2 separate regions of the Homo sapiens genome follow, and region 2 is linked to region 1. The links are contacts of gene promoters, found by promoter capture Hi-C in blood cells and fetal thymus (Javierre and others, 2016). All regions are on one chromosome and are shown on one strand. The core of a region is centred on a gene start or on the middle of the fragment in contact, and the rest is flanking DNA. Distances in the headings are between cores, read along the strand shown.

Region 1 (5,016 bases), core at 472-2,971:
GCGGTGGCTCAAGCCTGTAATCTCAGCACTTTGGGAGGCTGAGGTGGATGGATCACGAGGTCAGGAGATTGAGACCATCTTGGCTAACACGGTGAAACCCCGTCTCTACTAAAAATACAAAAAATTGGCCGGGCGTGGTGGCAGACACCTGTAGTCCCAGCTACTCGGGAGGCTGAGGCAGGAGAATGGCATCTACCCGGGAGGCAGAGCTTGCAGTGAGCAGAGATCACGCCACTGCACTCCAGCCTGGGCCTCAGAGTGACTCCGTCTCAAAAAAAAAAAAAAAAAAAAAAAAAAAAAAAAAAAGAAAATAAAAGAAAAAAAAAGTTCTGAGTTTCTTTTTTTTCCCCTTGATTAAATGATGTCTAAGGTCCCCTTTGGATGTAAAAGTCTATGATTCTTCCCAGCAGTTAAAAAAAAAAAAAATAGGTGAGTTGATTTTAAAGACTATTTTATAGCAGAAAGCAAAACAATCTGTTGGAGCAGAAAGCAAAGTAAGAAATTTTTCTCCTCACTGAGAAGGTTAATAAAAAGAAAATCCACTTCTTCATAGGGTCTGAAAACTATGTAACCTAAATTTTGTTTATACTCAAAGTATGTATATCTATAAAACCTAATGAGTTCTTTCCTGTTGTGCTTAGCAACTCAGGCAAGAAATGTTCAAGAAACGTTGTCTTTCATTAAAAGAAGACATTCAAGTTAACAAAACTTCTTTAAAAATTTATTTTTATTTTTTTTAGAGACAGGATCTCACTATGTTGCCCAGCCTGGACTAGAACTCCTGATCACGTGGCCTCAGCTTCCCGAATAGCTGGAACTGCAGGCATGTGCCACTGTGACTGGCTACGAATTCTTAAATGGCTTAAAAATCTTTAAAACTAGTTAGAAGTGGAGTTTTAGGTTTATAAACAAATGCAAACATAAAATAATACTAGCATTATTTGAAACTTAAATTTGTATTTTGTGTGAAAATGTGATCAGAATGAAAAATATCTTTATGTCCTGCAGATCATGGTGGAGCAAAGAATTGGTAAGGAGTAAAAACAAATTATGTAAAAATAACATTGCGTAGATAAAGCTACTTTGTTGACTTACTTCAACTGACACATTTATTAAGCAGAAGTGTTTGCAGAGAATAACTGGGAGTAAATTGCTTCACACATTTCATTACAGGTTGGCAGGACCAAATGATTTCTGACAAGAAGACCAAGAAACTTTCTCTCTGCTAGCCTGAACAGATTATTAAGAAATAACACGAGCTATTTCGTTAAACTTTCTATTGCTTTTCTGACTCCACAAGGAAATTGGGGGTCTACAAAGGTGACTGTCTATGTGCGATTTAATCAGGAGATATAGGGTTTCTCGGGGTGCTTGGATTTTCTTGTTCTTTCTGTGGGGATATCTGAGGTTGAAAGCAGGATGGCTGCGTAATATCTCCAGAAGTTTAATGAGAACAAGACTTATATCAAGGGTATTAAGAAAGCAATTCCAACGGTTCAAAGTAAAAGAGAACAGGACAGTCACAATACCCTAAATTACAAAGAAAAAAATGACAGACTTTATGAATCAAGAATCTAACTTCTTCCCCTTTCCCTCCCAGTCTGCTAGCTTCCCTCCCAGGAGAGCAACCCAGCCCTTGAGCCCGGGAGATTCCCTGCAGAGGGAAAGCGGTCTACTCACAGCGCCTCCTCTTTCTGCGCACACGGTAGGGCCCGCTCCGCAGTCTGCACCCGACCCAGGTGCTTTTCTACCCTCCTGCAATTCTTTGAACCTCCAGGACCAGGGAAGGGTAGTCTGTGATTGGCAGGAGGCACCTCACATGGGCTGAGCTTTCCGCTGCCTGCCCTGCCTCGCTGAGGCGGGGGAGTAACCGGAGGCTGTCAGTTGATTTCTGCTGCTTTGGAATGTGTGACTCTGACAGATGGAAGCACCTTGACAGCCACACTCATCGCTTTCCTGGATCCCTCCTAGGTTTGGGCTTTACTGGAATACAAACTCAGGGATTTTATTTTGATTTGATTTGATTTGATTTGTGTAATTTGATCCTTACTCCTGCTTTTGTGTGTTGAAGGCTTGTTAGTCCTGACCGCTCACAGCGATGCTGATATGTGCTTACCTGTGTAGGGCCATGTCCAGTTTTAGTTTCTATAATTTGCATATGCCAAATTCAGAGAGACAGTAATTGCCCAAGTAATGCTCATACTGTAGGTGGCCCAAAGACTGATAAGGAGCAAGAGATGTGGAAAGAAACAGATTGGGAAAAATTCACGGAGAGAGAGGGCTCAAGTGATTATCTGATGTCCAATTCTTCCCTCCCCTCTTCTTCCCTCCCTTTCTCTTCTCTTCCCTTCCCTTCTTTTTTCCTTCTTCCCTGACTTCTGGAGCCATCATGTGTTATACATGGCACCCAGAACATTATTTTAATGGCTGCATAACCTATCATGGTATACATGCGCCATCGCTTGTTTAACCTGAGTTAGGAATCGGTAACTGCAGTAATGTTAGAATTTACTGAGTGCTTTTACCAATAGACTTGGGAGTTCCTCAAAGGTCAGCATCATCTCTGTTGCAGGTTAGGTTGTTCAGGAGCAGACTTTGAGACAAAATTTAGTGTGCAATATATTTATTAGACAGTGCCCTGAGATTAACACCCATGGCAGGGAGAGGGGAGAAACAGGACTGGGCAGAGGAAGAAGTTGAGCTGCAATATAGATGGGACAGTCTTAAGCAGCCCTCCTCAGGAAACTCTGGAGGAAGATGGCCTGTCAGAGTAGCTCTGACACTGGGCTCCTCTATGATCTGCCCTTCAATGTGGATTACCCTGGGAAGGCAGCTTTCTGTAGCTGAGGCAAGTCCTGAAAGGGGCTGATAACTGGAGGCTGGAGGTTGCAAGTACTCCCAGCAGCAGGGCAACCTCCCACTTCAAGGGGGACTGCATGGAGCACCTCTGTGTCCATCACAAGGCCTTATTCCTCTGCAGCTCTTCAGGGCCTTGTTAGATAAATTATCATATTTCACACAATAGAATTCTGTGCAATGGTTAAAAATGACACCACAGATAAACATTTAATGGTATGGAAATAAGTTCAGTCATTTATTTGACAAATATTTATTGAAAACTTAGGATGTGCCAGGCACTCTTCTAGAGGCTGAAAATGAAAAAGCGGTTTACAAAATAGTTTGTGTAATCTGACACATTTTAATTTTTAAGAAAGTTTACCTATGACTTAAAAAGTTAGAAATAGTATACAGCAAACATTAACCAGAATATATCTGAATGGTAAAATATGGGTGACTTTTACAGTCTTCTATTTTTGCAGTTCATATGTTTACAAAGGATCTATATTATAATTATAAGAACGTACAAGTTATTAAAAACATGTGCTGTCCTGGAAATATTTGTGATAAAGTAGCAAGGAAGCAAACAAGGACATGTGAATTTTCATTCATGTCTTAGGCATTTTATGTTCCATTACCATGATTATATGGGGAGAAAACAAAAAGATTTGAAAATCTTCAAAATAGATAATGTGAACACAAACCCAATAACAAGAGACAAGAGACTAGCTAGGAAAAGGAAGATTAGTTTTCAGATAATAACTGCAACTGAATAGTTGAGGAACGTCAAGTCGTTAATGTATGACAGGCTTATTTTTTTCCAGTTAATTTATTTCTAACTCTCTTCTGCTAATCTTCCTTTCTCTCTGGCTAGGTGGCTCCCTTACCCACATCTTAACCTGATTCCAAGCTCATCAGTGAATTCTCATTACTAATATCTCACTTCTGTTAGAAACACTTAGATATTTTCTTCCTATCACCACAATTCAAACTACAGACTCCAGTAGTTTTGGGGAGAAGTTGAGGTCTTTAATAACCCCCCAACTCCCTGTGTATGTTCATTTGAGAGGGAAATGATGTCGTCCTGTGTGAGTGGCCAGAGAGAGGCTCTATCCCTTTCTGTTGGCCATCCCCACTGTCTAGTTCACCACCACCAGCAGCAGTGTAGACAAGGGCAGTGCACAGGGCTGGCCGAGGAGAGCCCTACTGAACCCCACGAGTTCCTAAGCCTCAGAGGGTGCTCTGCCTCATTCATTGGTTTGCAGTCAGTCTTTGTCCTTCAATCTCACCTACCCTCCAGGACCCCAGTTCTCAGGTGGCTGGGTTCTACCTTCTGCACATCTCAGGAACCTAGAACTAAAGGTGGCATGCTTGTCCCCTTCTCTGTCGGGCCATACCACTGCACCATCACCCTCCAAAGCTTTTCCTTCTCTGTGGTAGTTCCAAGGCAAGTTAGCAGGCCTGGTGACTCATGTGATATTTAACTGGGCTAGAAGAATTGGTCCTACATACACACTCAAACTTTTCAGTCCTCATGAGGTTTTCCTCTGTCATCTTCGGGGCAAGGAACCACTGGAATGTTTGTCTTCTCTGCATTCCCTAACAGATCCCTCACTTCAAATTGACTTTCCTATGGCGAGGTAGGGAGTTATAGTGCAAACTGGGTGAGAAAGAGGCTGCCTCCCTACTGGAAGTTCGGAAAGTGGGTTATTTAATGCCTTTTGCTTTCTCTAGTTACCAATTTCAGCAAAAACACTTCTCAAAACATGATGTTGTCTACAATATTTTTAATATATAGTAAAAGTCCCAGGTACTGCCAAATTTACTCTTCACAATATCCCTTTTTTTTATTATTATACTTTAAGTTTTAGGGTGCATGTGTACAACATGCAGGTTTGTTACATATGTATACATGTGCCATGTTGGTGTACTGCACCCATTAACTCGTCATTTAGCATTAGGTATATCTTCTAATGCTATCCCTCCCCCGTCCCCCCACCCCACAACAGTCCCTGGTGTGTGATGTTCCCCTTCCTGTGTCCATGAGTTCTCATTGTTCAATTCCCATCTATGAGTGAGAACATGCAGTGTTTGGTTTTTTGTCCTTGAGATAGTTTGCTGAGAATGATGGTTTCCAGCTTCATCCATTTCCCTGCAAAGGATATGAACTCATCATTT
Region 2 (4,944 bases), core at 1,447-3,946, 300 kb after region 1:
ATAATTTATTGTACATTTAAAATAACGAAAAGAGTATAATTGGGTTGTTTGTAATAGAAAGGATAAATGCTTGAGGTGATGGATACCCCATTTACCCTAATGTGATTATTATGCATTGTATACCTGTATCAAAATTTCTCATGTACCCCATAAATATATACACCAACTATATAGCTACAAAAATTGAAAATAAATAAATAAATAATAAAAAAAGATCCTCAGTTAGACCATTAATACAATGGTAGCTTAAAAAAAAATAGAACCCGAACAAACAAAAAACCTGCTTTCAGTATCCTGCAAGATCCTGAAATCCTCATCTGTGGACTTCACTTCAAATATGTCTTTCTCCCTACAGAATCTCTCTAAACTATTTCAGCTACCACCTTTTACCTTGGAGATTTGGCAGCTTGTTACATTTGCTTCTGAGCTTGTTGTTATGTTGACCCTCAACACTTGAGGGATTCTTTCCTGGCCTGACTTCCCTCTAATCTCAGACCTACACTCTAAAACTTGTGCTACAGCTGTGCCCTTGTCTAGTCCTTATGTTTGGGAATACCATGAGCTGAGGCAGGAATCAGTTATTCATAGCATAGAATGAGAGACGTAAGGACACCAGTCTCTAGAGTCACTGTAGTATTCTGTAGTTCATGTGAGCATGGCCTGAGAATTCAAGCTAGCAGCTCTAGGGGTTGTTGTTGCTGACAGCACACCCTTTGTGGCAAACCACATAGGAATTAATAGTGACTTCCACTCTGAAGCTTCTACCCTTTGCAGCAACAAGGCTGTTACTTCCCTGGAATTATAGGTTTGTACACTTAATCTGCTTAATTCCCATAGAGAACCAATGTGGTTTCTCACTGCCGTGCTGAGATCCTCTTTCCAACGCCTTTACAAAGATAGCATCCCCATTCCCAGACTTCTTTTCTCCTCGACCAGGCAGCCTGGTGAAAATGTGCAACAGTTCTAGAAAAGGGGCGTAGAAACACAGATTCCTTTTATTTATTCTAGACCGAAACTGGGGGCTCATAGTGACATCCAGTCACAATTTTATTTTGTCTTTTTTGGCTTACCAAAGGCTTAGCTTCTCTCGATTTATTTATAGAAATCCACATATCGAAGGAGAGAATAAGGGTAATTTTTATGTGATACAGGTCTTTGCAAGAATTTGCAGATGGTACATACTTTTGTCTCTCATGGAAGATATGCAGTTTTTCTTTTGGAAAGGGTACAGAAAGACCTGGCTACACCTTTCTAACAGATAACGATTACTTTCTATTTGTTCAATTTAGTCCCATCAGAACTCCTTATATGACAGTGCCAGGAGATCTAGGCCCCATTTAGGATATTTTTTGGAGAATGTCTTATACGGCATTTAACATAAGTGTGTTGTGACCTAATCCAGAGCTCTTTTACAGGAAATTCTCAGGCAATTAATTTCATTGTCCATGACTATAGTTGGTTCATTTTCTCCCTTTCAGCACTCTAAGAATTATGGCGATTTCTTATCAAAGAAATAGTTAATTTGAAATTTTACTTGGAAACAGCACACAACGAACATAAATTTCATATAGAGGCCCAAATGTCTTGTGTGGCCAACTGTGATGTTTTTTACCTTGTCCATGTAGCTGACGCCTTGGCAAATATTTCCTGGGCCTCCGTGAGGGGCATCATCTAAGTCATCTGGAATCTATTCTTTTCTCCAACTCTACTGCCAAAAGCACATCTTTAGATCTTTAGTTGTTGTTTGGGATTCTGGGTAATATAGAAACCCACTGCTTACATCACATGGCTTTCTATTTAGGACTTAAAAGAGAAAGGAACTGCAGTTCATTTTCTCTGTGTTACACTATTTTTGATTCTCTTTGTTTTTCACCAGCTATTTTCTTCCACTCATGTGCACAGTATTTCTTTTATGAACCAGCTGCCCTGCTCATTTTAAATTGAGATTGTTTTACCCAATTATTCACCTTCTGCCTCTCTTTACAATGCTTCCTACATTGTAGCCACATTGCATTATTAAACATTTTCATGATAAGCAATTCAGAGCAGTATTCAAAATTAAAAACATTCATCCTGAGCCAAATAGGAGCTCTAGTTTATTGGAACGTGCTTTAACAATAATCTGATGTTTCTCAGAAGGTTATCAAATTCCAGTCTGAGTTTCTGGATGGTAGATCTCTTTTTAGGATCCCAGCACCTAGTTAACCTCTTCTAATTTGCCATTGGTTCTTAGCAATTTGGTTCATGCTAAAGCTTCTTTGATTTCAACAGCTGATTTTTTATTAGAAAGTTTTCCCTAACTTCTGTCTCTCTCCACACCTCTTTGAGAAATAGGAGCAAGTTTGCTTCCTACCTCATCCATTAATTCTAGGTGAACTACATTGTACTATTGTATTAATTAAAGTGGGCATTTATAATAATGCACCAAACTTAGCATTGTGTAAGTGAACAGGAAATTCTCACTATTGTTGGAAAAATTTAAAAAATATTACCCTTTGAGACACTCTCTAGGATAATCTCAAATCCTTCATTATGTGCTTCTTAAGTAAATGGCATTGCCTTAAAAGAGCTGTATTTCTTGTCTGTCCAAGTCTACCTTTTAAGTGACAAAATTGCAACAATGGTAAATGCATTGCTTCCCGTGTCCTCCAAGACTTCACAGCTCATATCTCAATACTTCAGTCTCTCAAGTGCAAAATGAGGATAATAGTTTACAGCATTTAAGATGTGAAGCACTTAGAACAGTCACTGAAACATTATTCAATGCACACTAGCCACTATCACTATTATTTGAAATGTCTCATTGTTATAAATACATATTTTAAAATGTGTGCAAAGTCAACATTGTATTTAAGACTATTGCATTCCCCCAGTGCCACAGTACCACTAATTGAATTTGTGATTTAGGTCTCTCCAGGCAGAATTCAAGGCTGTGGCTCGGCTTTAATACCATCTAGATATTGGATTCCTGACCTGACTTGTTGAGTCTTACCTATCCTGTATTCTTTTTCAATTGTCTCTGCCTACCAATTGAGATAGCCTCCGATTTTACCTGTGCTCCTCCTCCTCTTTCTCTCTCAGCCACTGGTGAGTATTTACATGAGCTAAGATTTAGGAGTGCTGTAGATCAGGAAGCTTTGTTGGCATTAGTGGCTGATTCAGTTTCCCCAGTGCCTGTCCCCTGTGGCTGTGCTGAGTGCTCTCCTGGACCCTCCTCTCTGGTCACATCCTGTTCTAAGTAATGGTCCATTCAGATGTGATCTTAGTCTCATCGTTTTAGTCCATTTGTGCTGCTAATAACAAAATACGACAGACTGGGTAATTTATAAACAATAGAAATTTATTTCTTACAGTTCTGGAGGCTGGGCAGTTCAAGATAAAGGCACCAGCATTCAGTGTCTGGTGAGGGCCTTCTTGCTGTGTCCTCACATATTTGCAGGGCCAAAAAGGCAAAAAGACCCTAAGCCACTTCCCTCCAGATCTTCTATAAGGCACTAATCTGTTTATGAGAGGAGAGCCGGAATGACTAATCATCTTCCTAAAGTCCCCACCTCATAACAACACCACCATGGGGATTAAGTTTCAACATATGAATTCTGAAAAACATTCAGACAATAGCACTTAACATTTAAAAGTTGCTTAATTTCAAGGCCAAAAATTAATCTTATGTTTCAGAATATTATTCAAAAATCCCTCACAAGCAGTTTAACCTCAATGTGATATGGAAGACCAGTGGTCATTACAAAGTATGTTGTTAGAAGTCTTTACTATTTCCCAGATGACTGGAAATATGGCCTTACACTAGAGTGACCCTATTACCAGCTCACTCAGGTTAGTCTCAGTTTATATTTGTAGCCTAGGAATTATTAATAGTGTCCCTCAATTACTCTCAGAGTGTCTTAATTTGGGCAATAAGTTTATAAGGTCACCACAGCTTGAAATGATGTCTAGTAGTCATCCTCCAAATTATTTTATGTCAGGAGTTCACAATCTAACATCAGTTTTCCGTAGATCTTCACATTCACATTACAGCTTTGTTGACTCTTTCAACATCTCTATTTTAATAGCTCTGAGACAAAACTTCAGGAAAGTTATGTTGCTTATCTTAGAAACCTAACTTTCATGGTGAAAGGATATGATGAAAATAGGAATCTCCACCACAGAAGAATAGAAAAATCTCTTCCTAGGAGATATCTTTTCCTGAAGCTTTTTTTGATTGCCCAAGACAGGAAAATAAATCTTCTGTGATTATATAAGATAATGTATACTTATCATAGGATATACATATCATATTCAAATTAATTTTGTCCTGTGACTATGCTCCTTGAAGATGGGAACCATTTTGTAATTATTTGCTTCTTGAAGGTGGTAACTATTTCATAATTATTTGTGTTTTTCCAGGCCTCACACATGGCACATAGTAGATGCTGAAAAAAGTTTGTGAATCTGAATATTGGAACTCAATTGAACTCAAGACTATTTTTATCAACACTTCTAGTGATCAAAGTTGATTAGTATATACTAGAAGTTGCTGATTATAAAACAAATTAATCTGATGTGTTATTGGTCATGCAGGCCACCCACCCAGTCTATCCTTCTATCTACTATGTGTGAAACATTCTCTTCCTTCCACTTTATGTGGAGATAGGTGAAACATTTCCTCTTTTCATTCTCTCAGTAAGTCTGATGACTCCCTATGTTCCTGATCATCTGATCCCAAGGAAACACGCTATTAGTCAATTCTCACACTGTTTTAAAGAAATACCTGAGACTGGGTAATTTATGAAGAAAGGAGGTTTAATTGACTCACAGTTCCACAGGCTGTATAGAAAGCATGACTGGGAGGTTTCAGGAAACTTACAATCATGGTGGAAGATGAAGGGGAAGCAAGGCACATCTTCCTATGGCAGAGCAGGAGAGAAAGGGGGGAAGTGTCATACTTTT

Evidence for each region. The method cuts DNA at HindIII sites, captures the fragments that hold promoters and counts their contacts. A CHiCAGO score of 5 or more calls a contact.
Region 2: a contact is called between a fragment that was not itself captured here and the fragment with the promoter of UPK1B in region 1, in 2 of 17 cell types (naive CD4 T cells and naive CD8 T cells). The highest score is 5.7, in naive CD4 T cells.

What each region holds. Positions count from the first base shown.
Region 1 is chr3:119,170,303-119,175,318 of GRCh38, reverse strand. UPK1B (uroplakin 1B) reads right to left here and starts at 1,721. Exons shown (of 8, transcript NM_006952.4): 1 at 1,681-1,721. The HindIII fragment of the contact is 9,656 bases long and covers 1-4,260 here.
Region 2 is chr3:118,872,290-118,877,233 of GRCh38, reverse strand. No RefSeq gene overlaps it. Among named protein-coding and RNA genes, the nearest start is that of IGSF11-AS1, 68 kb to the left of the region's middle. The HindIII fragment of the contact is 882 bases long and covers 2,256-3,137 here.